Linked DNA regions of Homo sapiens: region 2 is linked to region 1. Evidence: promoter capture Hi-C in human tissues and cell types (Jung and others, 2019). All regions are on one chromosome and are shown on one strand. The core of a region is centred on a gene start or on the middle of the fragment in contact, and the rest is flanking DNA. Distances in the headings are between cores, read along the strand shown. Region 1 holds the start of MYOM1 (myomesin 1). Region 2 overlaps EMILIN2 (elastin microfibril interfacer 2).

What was found. Contacts are between HindIII fragments. The study calls those that stand out against the background at their distance.
Region 2: a contact is called between a fragment that was not itself captured here and the fragment with the promoter of MYOM1 in region 1, in 2 of the 25 tissues and cell types used here (aorta and mesendoderm cells).

Annotation. Positions count from the first base shown.
Region 1 is chr18:3,218,083-3,222,814 of GRCh38, reverse strand. MYOM1 (myomesin 1) reads left to right here and starts at 2,847. Exons shown (of 38, transcript NM_003803.4): 1 at 2,847-3,012. RefSeq lists a silencer at 4,550-4,732. The HindIII fragment of the contact is 14,410 bases long and covers 1,685-4,732 here.
Region 2 is chr18:2,879,279-2,884,010 of GRCh38, reverse strand. All of the region lies in intron 2 of EMILIN2 (elastin microfibril interfacer 2), which reads right to left. Among named protein-coding and RNA genes, the nearest start is that of EMILIN2, 35 kb to the right of the region's middle. The HindIII fragment of the contact is 5,105 bases long and covers 1-4,732 here.

The sequences.
Region 1 (4,732 bases), core at 1,598-4,097:
CTGTTCCACACAGAGCATAGCCTCCTATATATGATACTATGCTGCCTCTCAACCATTTAACTGTGTGTGTATGCCTGTTTGTGTGTGTATGTGTGTATGTGCACACGTACACATTTATGTTGATAGAGAGCACCATGTGCCAATACTGTCCATTAGAAGGAAGAAATGTTACAGAAGAAGAGTTTCATTTATGTTTCTTATTAACAGACAATAATTTATTAGGTCAAAATGTACTGGCTACAAGTATCAATACATTTAAATATTTACTGAACTTTCATCCTTGTTAAAAATACAAAAATGAGAGAAGTGCACACACACTATAGAAAAACTAAAATATTATCATTGATTCATTGATACTCAAGATCCCTGTGAAAGCAAGAGTTTATTCCAAACAAATATACAGTAAGTTTAGACAAAAGAAGCATGAGCTAGACCCAGCAGAATCTCCTAAGTGATCTTTCTGCTGTGGCATCATCTAGATTCAGGTTTTTCTAACAGCAAATTTATCTGAATTACAACTAGCTACATAATAAATTACATATGGTGATGTACTGGATAATAAAACTAAAGAAGAAAAACTTGGGCTCATATGAATCAATTATTGTAACTTAGTTATGATTCCTTTATATATGTGGACTCTGGTCAATTACACTTACTCATGATACCCTTACAGATATGTGATTATCCTGAAAACTTAATGGAGTGGTTAGCCAGCTGTTAATTTCAAATTTCCCAGAAAATCATCTAATGTAAAACACTTTTTAAAAAGCATATAAGTTTATTTTTCCTCTTTTCTGCTTTGAGAAGATTTGGGGCAATTGACCAATGTTCTCTAGAGAAACAGCTCACCAGGAATCATCCTAATGGCTGGTGGATAAGACTTGAGAAGAATCACTGCATTCTGTATTGGATATTTAGAGAACAAATGGATGCTTGGGGAACATAACACTTGGAAAACTCGCCTATGGCTTCCAGATAGCTAAAATGTCCACATGCTTACTAATAGCAGAGGTATGTATATGAAGAAATTCCAGGTTGAATTTCACAGGTACCTGGATCAGAACTAGGTGGAACAGATTCTTTTACATACTTTGAGTAGCTCAGAAGCTAACCGTCTATTACAAGTGAAGACCCGTATTGCCATTTCAAAATGTCTAGTTTCTTACTATCAAAGTGCCACTGGAGGAGCCAGCAATACATGACTACAAGTACACGGGCTTTGGAATCAAATGTCTCTGAATGAAGTTGCGTTTCTGTCATCTACCCGCTGTGTGATCTTTGGCAAATGCCTTCCCTTCTGGAAGCTTTGCTTTCCTCAACGGGGTAATGAAGCTGTACCTTGCAAGGTATGATAAGTCAGTGGGATCATGTATATAAACTGCCTATCCCAGTGTCTGGCACTGGATAGGTCCTCAACAGTGTTAACTGTAGTTATCATCAAGAAAGTCATGATGAAGTATACTATAATATTGAGTCTGTTCAATATCTTGATAGAGACTGGGTGCAGTGGCTCACGCCTGTAATTCCAGCACTTTGTGAGACTGAGGCAGGTGGATTACTCGAGTCCAGGAGTTTGAGACCAGCCTGGGCAACATGGTGAAACTCCATTTCTACCAAGAGTTAAAAAAAAAAATTAGCCGAGTGTGATGGCATGCGCCTGTAGCTACTCGGGAGGCTGAGGTGGGAGGATTGCTTGAGCCTGGGAGGCAGAGGTTGCAGTGAGCCAAGACTGCACCACTGCACTCCAGCCTGGGCAACAGAGTGAGACCCTGTCTCAGAAAGAAAAACAATTTTGATAGACACAGGTGACCTTTATTCAGTTGATGTAATATCACTGTCAGAACATAAGGCCAGTAGATCAAAATACCAACCTGCTGCATACATGTAATCTAACAATGAGCTTTTATATTATTGGTATCAGTAATAACAGCTGATATTTACTGAGTCTATATTATGTGACTGTCACTAGGTCAAGTGCTCTGTCTGCAGTATCACATTTAATCACCACAGCAATCCTATAATTTGGATATGATTATCCCCATTTTATAGACAAAAAACCTGAAGCTTAGGAAGGAGAAATAAATTGCTGGAGATTACATGGCTACTAAGTGCTATCAATATAGTGGGATCTAGATCTGGTCTGAATCCACAACACAGGCTCTCACAACCGGGTTACACCTCCTCTTAATTGGTCACACCATTTAAAGAACAAAGAAAGAGAATCTCTTATTAGATGGACTGACCCTACTCTGAGTTAGGAAAGATAAAACACTGAGTTGCGTCTCAAAAGGCTTTAGTTAATGAACAGGAAATCACATATTCAGGCTTGAAGCTAAGACTTAACCTTGTAAATTTTCCTGAAGTGAGAGAAATAGTGACCGTGATGTCAGGCAAAAATCGCCACCACGTGTAACCCATTTCTTCCTTGTTTTGCCTTTAGTTAGCTTCAAGTTCTTTTTTCACATTGTATCTTTTAAATGTACCGTACGTGTGTTGTTAACAGCACACTCAGAATCATATCTTGGCATTAAAATTCCACGAAGTCCATTTTGAGAATCATATTACTACACCTATTTTTAGCTGTTAACACAAACCACTCTTTCCATTACACTTTTAAATTATCTACTGATAAAGTGACATTGAAAATAACTCTTGTTGCCAAATAAAAACCCTATATTTGGTTTAATCGGGCCAGACCCATTGACCGGCATTATGCAATTATATTACTAAGGCTGCTACCTGCCCATGCCCCTCTCCTCCTCCTGGTTTGGAACTACCCTCCCCATCTGCTGCTATATTTATCTGCCTTCTTGGCCATAAAAGGCTGGTTGTGTGGCCTGACATTCGACTGCCTGACCACATGCATTATTTTTGAACTGGCCCCCAGGGTCCTGTCTTTAGCCCTGCCTCTTAACATTGTCTTGGATTCAACCTAGGTGGAGTCTTCATTCTCTCATCCAGCTCCTCGGCCTCATCGGAACATTTCCACCACCATTACTCCTTTGGAAACTGGTAAGTGTGACACTGAGGCAGAAGAATGCACTTGATAGCTTATGAGCTTAGCAGCAGTGCAGTGTAAGTGCTTTCTTTCTGTCTTCTGAACTCAGCAGTTTTCTCAAAGAGATGTCAGAATAACAGAGAAATAGGAAAGTGAAGCTCCAGGGAGGGAAACCAGAACAGCCGGGTGCCAGTCGGGCTGGCACAGCTCTTCTCTCACATCACTGTATTCTTCTGAAATTAAGCTGCTGTTCCTGGAACTGTAAGGAGGTCATATCTGCCTCGGATTGAACTGTAAGCGTGTGTTTAATGCTATTTCCAAGTACGGTTTGGTTGAAATCTGAAATGGATGAGAGACAGGAGGCCCTGCATTTTCAATCCTGCATGTGCCATACAATGCTCCCTGGTTACAAATTAGACCGAAAGAAGGAAAATTAACTCTGAAGTCACTAGTTTATAATTCAGGGATCTTGCTGTGACGATGCAATGTGGATAAATGTGAGCGCGCACAATGATATGGCCTCAAATGGTTAAGTAATATTTCAGAGGCAACATAGAGCCCCACATAGTGATTTTTCTGGGAATCGTTTTCATCAGCTTCTGCCCTCTAATGCCTGCACAAAAGTATCATAAATTACAGCTATGGAATTTGTATTTCTTCCTAAATTCTCAAATTATTTTCAGAAAGAAAATTTAGGTCTTAAAGAAACAAAAGACACTAAAACCATCTTTCCTCCCAACGTACTCCAGCCGTCATGTGTTGGAGCTAATCCTGGCTTTAGTTAACTTCAAGGGCTTACTTGATGAAGAGGAGGTGGTTGTACCTTTGTTCCAGAGGTCAGGGCTGTGACAATCAGCAATGTGGGCTTCAAGTCAAACCCTGTTTACTTGTAACTTACTATCTATGTGAGAGGAATAGTAAGTATTATTAAAAATAAATGTATTTGGGAGAAATAGAAATAAAGAGAGTAAAAAATAGTATTGGGGCAAGATATTTAAAGATTTTATTTTGTGAAAATAACAGCATTTCAAGTCATCTGGGGAATGAATTTAGTTTATAACATAACAAGTTTCTTTATTATTTATTTGAAAAATCATTCAAATAACATGTGCCATGTTACAATGTAGTATCATAACAGAAACTTCTCTAATATCTTTATAACTGCCTAACGTAATTCTGTATTAACATTTTCTAACCCCTTTGTTTTATCAAAATTCATCTAGTAGTTATTAATTATACATGGTAATTATCCTCCATATTTTGTAACAGAAAATAGCCATCTATTTAAGGGTTGAAGCAAAGTTGCTTGCTAGTAGCTATTTTTTTCCCTTAGGAAATGCCCTGTAGACTGATATCTTCCATGAACCCTAAGATAAATATTTCTGGAGTGAAGTTTGCTCAGTTTTCTTCTCTGGGGAATACATGCTGACTTTTAAAATAGTTTAAATAAAAAGTAGTTTTAAACTTGACAAAGAATATGCTGAGTTTAGAAGGATTCATTCTTCATTTTGAATTTTTTTAAAAATGACATTTGGAGAAAACAGATCACTTTAAAACTAATTCTACAGCATTAAAACACTTGGGGGTGGAGCTTTTATAAAACTATTACTTCATCCAGGGTTGTCAACGTGGCTGATAGGCCTGCTTCAGTGGATAAACTATTCAAGAATGCTAAGGCCATGTGACATCTCCCCACCCTATGCTAAACAAACATACCTTTGACTTTTAGTAGAA
Region 2 (4,732 bases), core at 983-3,482, 340 kb after region 1:
GCACTCCAGCCTGGGTGACAGAGCAAGACTCCAACTCAAAAAAAATAAAAAGAAAGAAAGAAACATCCCTGGCACCCTGCTCTCCATCATGTCTGTGTGTTTACCGCTGCACCTCCCTTTCCTGATGCTAGCAAAGGTAGCCACCAGCTTTTGCAGATGGCAGCTCACACTATTTGTGTCCACTTTTTACAAAGATGCCCTGGTTCATACTGTCAATGACAGAAATCAGGAAGCAGAATTGGAAGCACTCAAAAAGTCCTGTTGACAGTGCACATCCCCTCATGCCCTGGAATATCACACAGAGAGCTTTGCAGTGAGCTGGAAAGTCCTCCAGACTCAAGGCCGGGCCTGGGCCCACAACAGACTTTGACAGCCCTGCAGTCCCGGGCTCACCAGGGAAGGAGCCAGGAGTTCAGCCCCCGCAGCGGCCCCTGCTCACAGCACAGGCAAAAGCCACAGCCACACAGGATGGGGCCTCCCTACTTCAGCCCAATTGTGATTTCCTGCCTTGCAAATCATCTCTCTTGAAGCTCTTCAGCTCCTCTTCATTTCTTACACCAGCACCAGCAGCTGGCCTTCTTCTTGAGCCAATTCCCAGAAAGCAATAGGCTGAGTGTCACTTTTTCAGGGTTGCTGAGAGCTGCCCATGGGGGGAGGCGGGACAATAGCAGCAGCGGGGTTACCCAGCAAAGCAACTCCCTCCCAAGCACCAGCCCTGTGGCAGGTGGACTTCAAAGTTACCTCCCTGAGGAAAGCACAAATCATGTGCTGGACCTTTGACATCCTCCCCGAGGGTCACACACTGACAATTACACTCTGGGTATAGGATCCACCCCGCTGGGACTGGCTAGGCACCCTGCAGAATCCCAAGAGGGCCCTGCCGACAGCTAGGACCCGCCAAGCCCATTAGACCTCCTAGCACCTTCCACTGTCCCTGTTTCCTTTGGTTTTTGTTGTGTTTTTTGTTTTGTAGAGATAAGTATCACTTGGTCGCCCAGGCTGGAGTGCAGTGGTACAATCATGGTACACTGCAACCTCAAACTCCTGGGCTCAAGTGATCCTCCACCTCGGCCTCCCAAAATGCTGAGATTACAGGCACCATGCCTGGGTCATATTTTTTTTTTTTTGAGATGATGTTTCACTCTCGTTGCCCAGGCTGGAGTACAATGGCGCGATCTCGGCTCACTGCAACCTCTGCCTCCCGGGTTCAAGCGATTCGCCTGCCTCAGCCTCCCAAGTAGCTGGGATTACAGGCACCCACCACCATGCCTGGTTATTTTTTGTATTTTTAGTAGAGACATAGTTTCACCATGTTGGCTGGGCTGGTCTTGAACTCCTGACCTCAGGTGATCTACCCACCCTTTAGCCCCCAAAGTGCTGGGATTACAGGTGTGAGCCACTGTGCCCAGCCAATTTAAAAAAATTTTTTTAAGAGATAGGGTCTCACTATGTTGCCCAGGCTGGTCTCGAGCCCATGGCCTCAAGTGATCCCCCAACCTCAAAGTGCTGGGATTACAGGCATGAGCCACCACACCCGGCCTGTTTGCCTTGATCTTTAGGGCAGTGGTTCTTAGCCTGAGCCATCAGAATCACCCAGGAAACTGTGAAAAAATACCCACGCCTGGGTCTCACCCTCAGAGGTTTTGATTTAAGGGGTCTGGGGTGGCAGCCAGGCATGCAGATGTTAGAAAGCTCCAGAGAGCCTTTTCCAAGGAAAACTGAAGAGGAAGCCTGGTAGTAAAATGGAAAAACAAGGGCTGCTCGGGCAGTTGGGAGGATGAGGAGAGGAAAGACCTTCCAGGCTCTTCCTTCTCTCATTGCTGTCCACCTCCACCAAGGCCCTACTATACATTTTCCCCTTTTCACAAGTGAGAAAACAGAGGCTCATGGGGTTAAGCGACTTATCCAAGTTCAAACAGCCCGGAAGGGGCAGGGCCGTTAAACCCAAGCCTCCTCCCTGCACCCCACACAGCCGTTCTCTCAGGCGATGCCTTACATTGGAGGAAGCGGCCCCACCTGGAGATGTTCCAGAAGGCCCTAAGGGCTGGGTAAGAAGGTAGGCAACCCCCACTTCGGCCAACCCATTCCTGAGCATCCCACCCGTGGCCAGGTACACACCAGCCCTCGGTCCCCACCACCACCTAGCAGGAGTCCTCTGTGTGGTCCTTGAAAATGTAAAAAGGGAAGAAAGCATCATTGCGCTGGATTGTTTTGCGTTCTCAAGTAGAGCATAATGCTGGAAGAATGTGTAATCTCAGAAAAACGTGGTTCCTCTGAGCATTCAGACTGAATGTGAAATGTGTTTGCTCTCGGGTTTTGTTCATCGGCCAGGAGATGACGGCCCAGGCCTGCATGAAGCTGTCTCAGAGGAGGCTGAGCCAGGCCAGGCAGAGCACACTCCTGTGCCCATTGAAGAGGAACGGCCCCCACTCCAGCCCAGCAGCGGGCTGTGACCTCTGTCATGCCCCAGAGCGGAAGAAAGGCCTTGCTGTGCCAACACACTTTGTTCTTTTCTTTCAAGGCAATTTTATTTTGGGGCCAGCTCCCCAGCTCCTAATGTAGGAAAGTTCCCTGGAGCCTGGAGCCCCCACCCCTCCCACTCTACACATGTTCCCCACTCCTGCTCCGCGTCTAATCTGCCTGCTGTTGAGTTTCTGGCCAAGGGAGTTCAGGTTGAGGCGCTCCTGACAAGTTTTCAAGTCTAGCATGGGGAAGAGGACTTCCTGGCTGGCATCAACAGTTGGAATCCATCAGCAGCCACCTCCTGCGGTGAGAAAGCTCCCTAGGGATGTCGCATGACGATGACAAAGCTGGATCTCAGAGGTGGCCTTGGGCCCTGCTAGTCAGCCCTCGGGCTCAGTTGGGAGCTCAGGGGGAGGTGGAGATGAAAGGGTTGTCCAATCCCAAATCCCTACTGGGATTTTCCCAGCAGAAAGGGGTTCCCACTAAGACAGTAGCCAGCTAGAAGCTTTCCTAGAGGATGGGGAGCAACAAAGGAGGATTCTGGGTCACCCTCTTCATCACCCAAGGCACTGCAGGAAAATAGCTAGTGAGCTTTAGAAAATGCCAAGGAATTTTCAGCAAAATTATACCTTAATTGGTGGAGGGTGCTCGTACCTTTCTAAAAGTCCCCAAGTCGTTGTCAAGTGCAGCCAAAGTGGAAAAGCCCCAGACCCAGGACCCACTTCCTCCCTTCAGGGAATCGGCCACCCTCCTAAGAGGACCAGGCAGGGGACATGAAACAGAGACAGGCGGCCCAAGCATCCCCAGGGGCCCCGGGCTGTGAGCACACGGGAGATGCTCACTCGATACAGAATCAGTCAACTAACTGCAGTGTGGGGGTGGCCAAGCCGAGGGACCCGCAGCCAGAGGAAAAGTTAAGGCGGCGGGGCTGCGCAGCGCTGGAGGGGCGGACTCGGCTGCAGCCCTGGCTCCCTTCCCAGCCTCGGCTGTGACTGTGATGGTGCCCCAGCCCTCTGGAGAGCCCCGTCCACAGGTGCCTTGGGTATGGGCGGGGGCGGCCCTTGGGGCTGTAACCCTGGGCCTGTCGCCCTGCCGCCTCGCCCCTGTGAACTCTCCCCCATTCCAGCCAAGTCTCCTTTGCCCGCCTCTTCCTCTAAAACCCTTTTCGGAGGTGAAAACAAGGGTTTCCCATTTTAATGGGTTCAGCAACCGTGTCAAGACACTAGACTGGCCCAGGAGATTCTAATGAGAAGGAAGGTGTCAAAAAAAAAAGTCCTGGAAAAGTTGTGTCAGCGTCCAGGGACCATATGACTGGAAGTGTCCCTGTTAAAACAAAATGACAGTACCTCCACTTGATGTCACCCCCACAAAGACTCCTTCTACTGACTCAAGTTGAGACCTCCTTCATAACACGCCTCAGTTCACACTTGTGTTTGCTTACTCCGTGTTTGTCCTCCCTGCCAGACTGTAAGCCCCATGAGGATAGAATTCCTGTTGGTTTTGTTCACTATAACATCCCATTTTTAAAAATTAATATACTAGGCTGGGCACAGTGGCTCATGCCTGCAATCCTAGCACTCTGGGAGGCCAAGGACTGAGGATTGCTGAGCTCAGGAGTTCGAGAACAGCCTGGGCAACATAGCAAAACCTCATCTCTACTAAAAATCTTTAAAAGTTAGCCACGCATGGTGATGCACACCTCTTATCCCAGCTACTTGGGAGGCTGACGCAGGAGGATCATATGAGCCCTTGAATTTGAGACTGCAGTGAGCCATGATCACACCCATTGCACTCCAGCCTGGGCGACAGAGACCATACCTCAAAAAATAAATCAATCAAATTAATATACTTAACTTTCTTTTTTTGGGGGGGGTGTTGGGGGCAGGGAGGACGGAGTCTCTCTCTGTCGCTCAGGCTGGAGTGCAGTGGTGCGATCTTGGCTCACTGCAACCTCTGCCTCCTGGGCTCAAGCGATTCTCCTGCCTCAGCCTCCCTAGTAGCTGGGATTACAGGCATGTGCCACCACGCCTGGCTAATTTTTTTGTATTTTTCTTAGAGACCGGGTTTCTCCATGTTGGTCAGGCTGGTCTCGAACTCCCAACCTCAGGTGATCCGCCCGCCTTGGCCTCCCAAAGGGCTGGGATTACAAGCATGAGCTACTGCGCCTGGCATGGCTGTTAACATTTAAACCAATTAAGATTGAACATTTTGTTCCTCAGTCAAACTAGTGTATTTCACAGACTTAACAGCACAAATGCCAGTGGCCGCA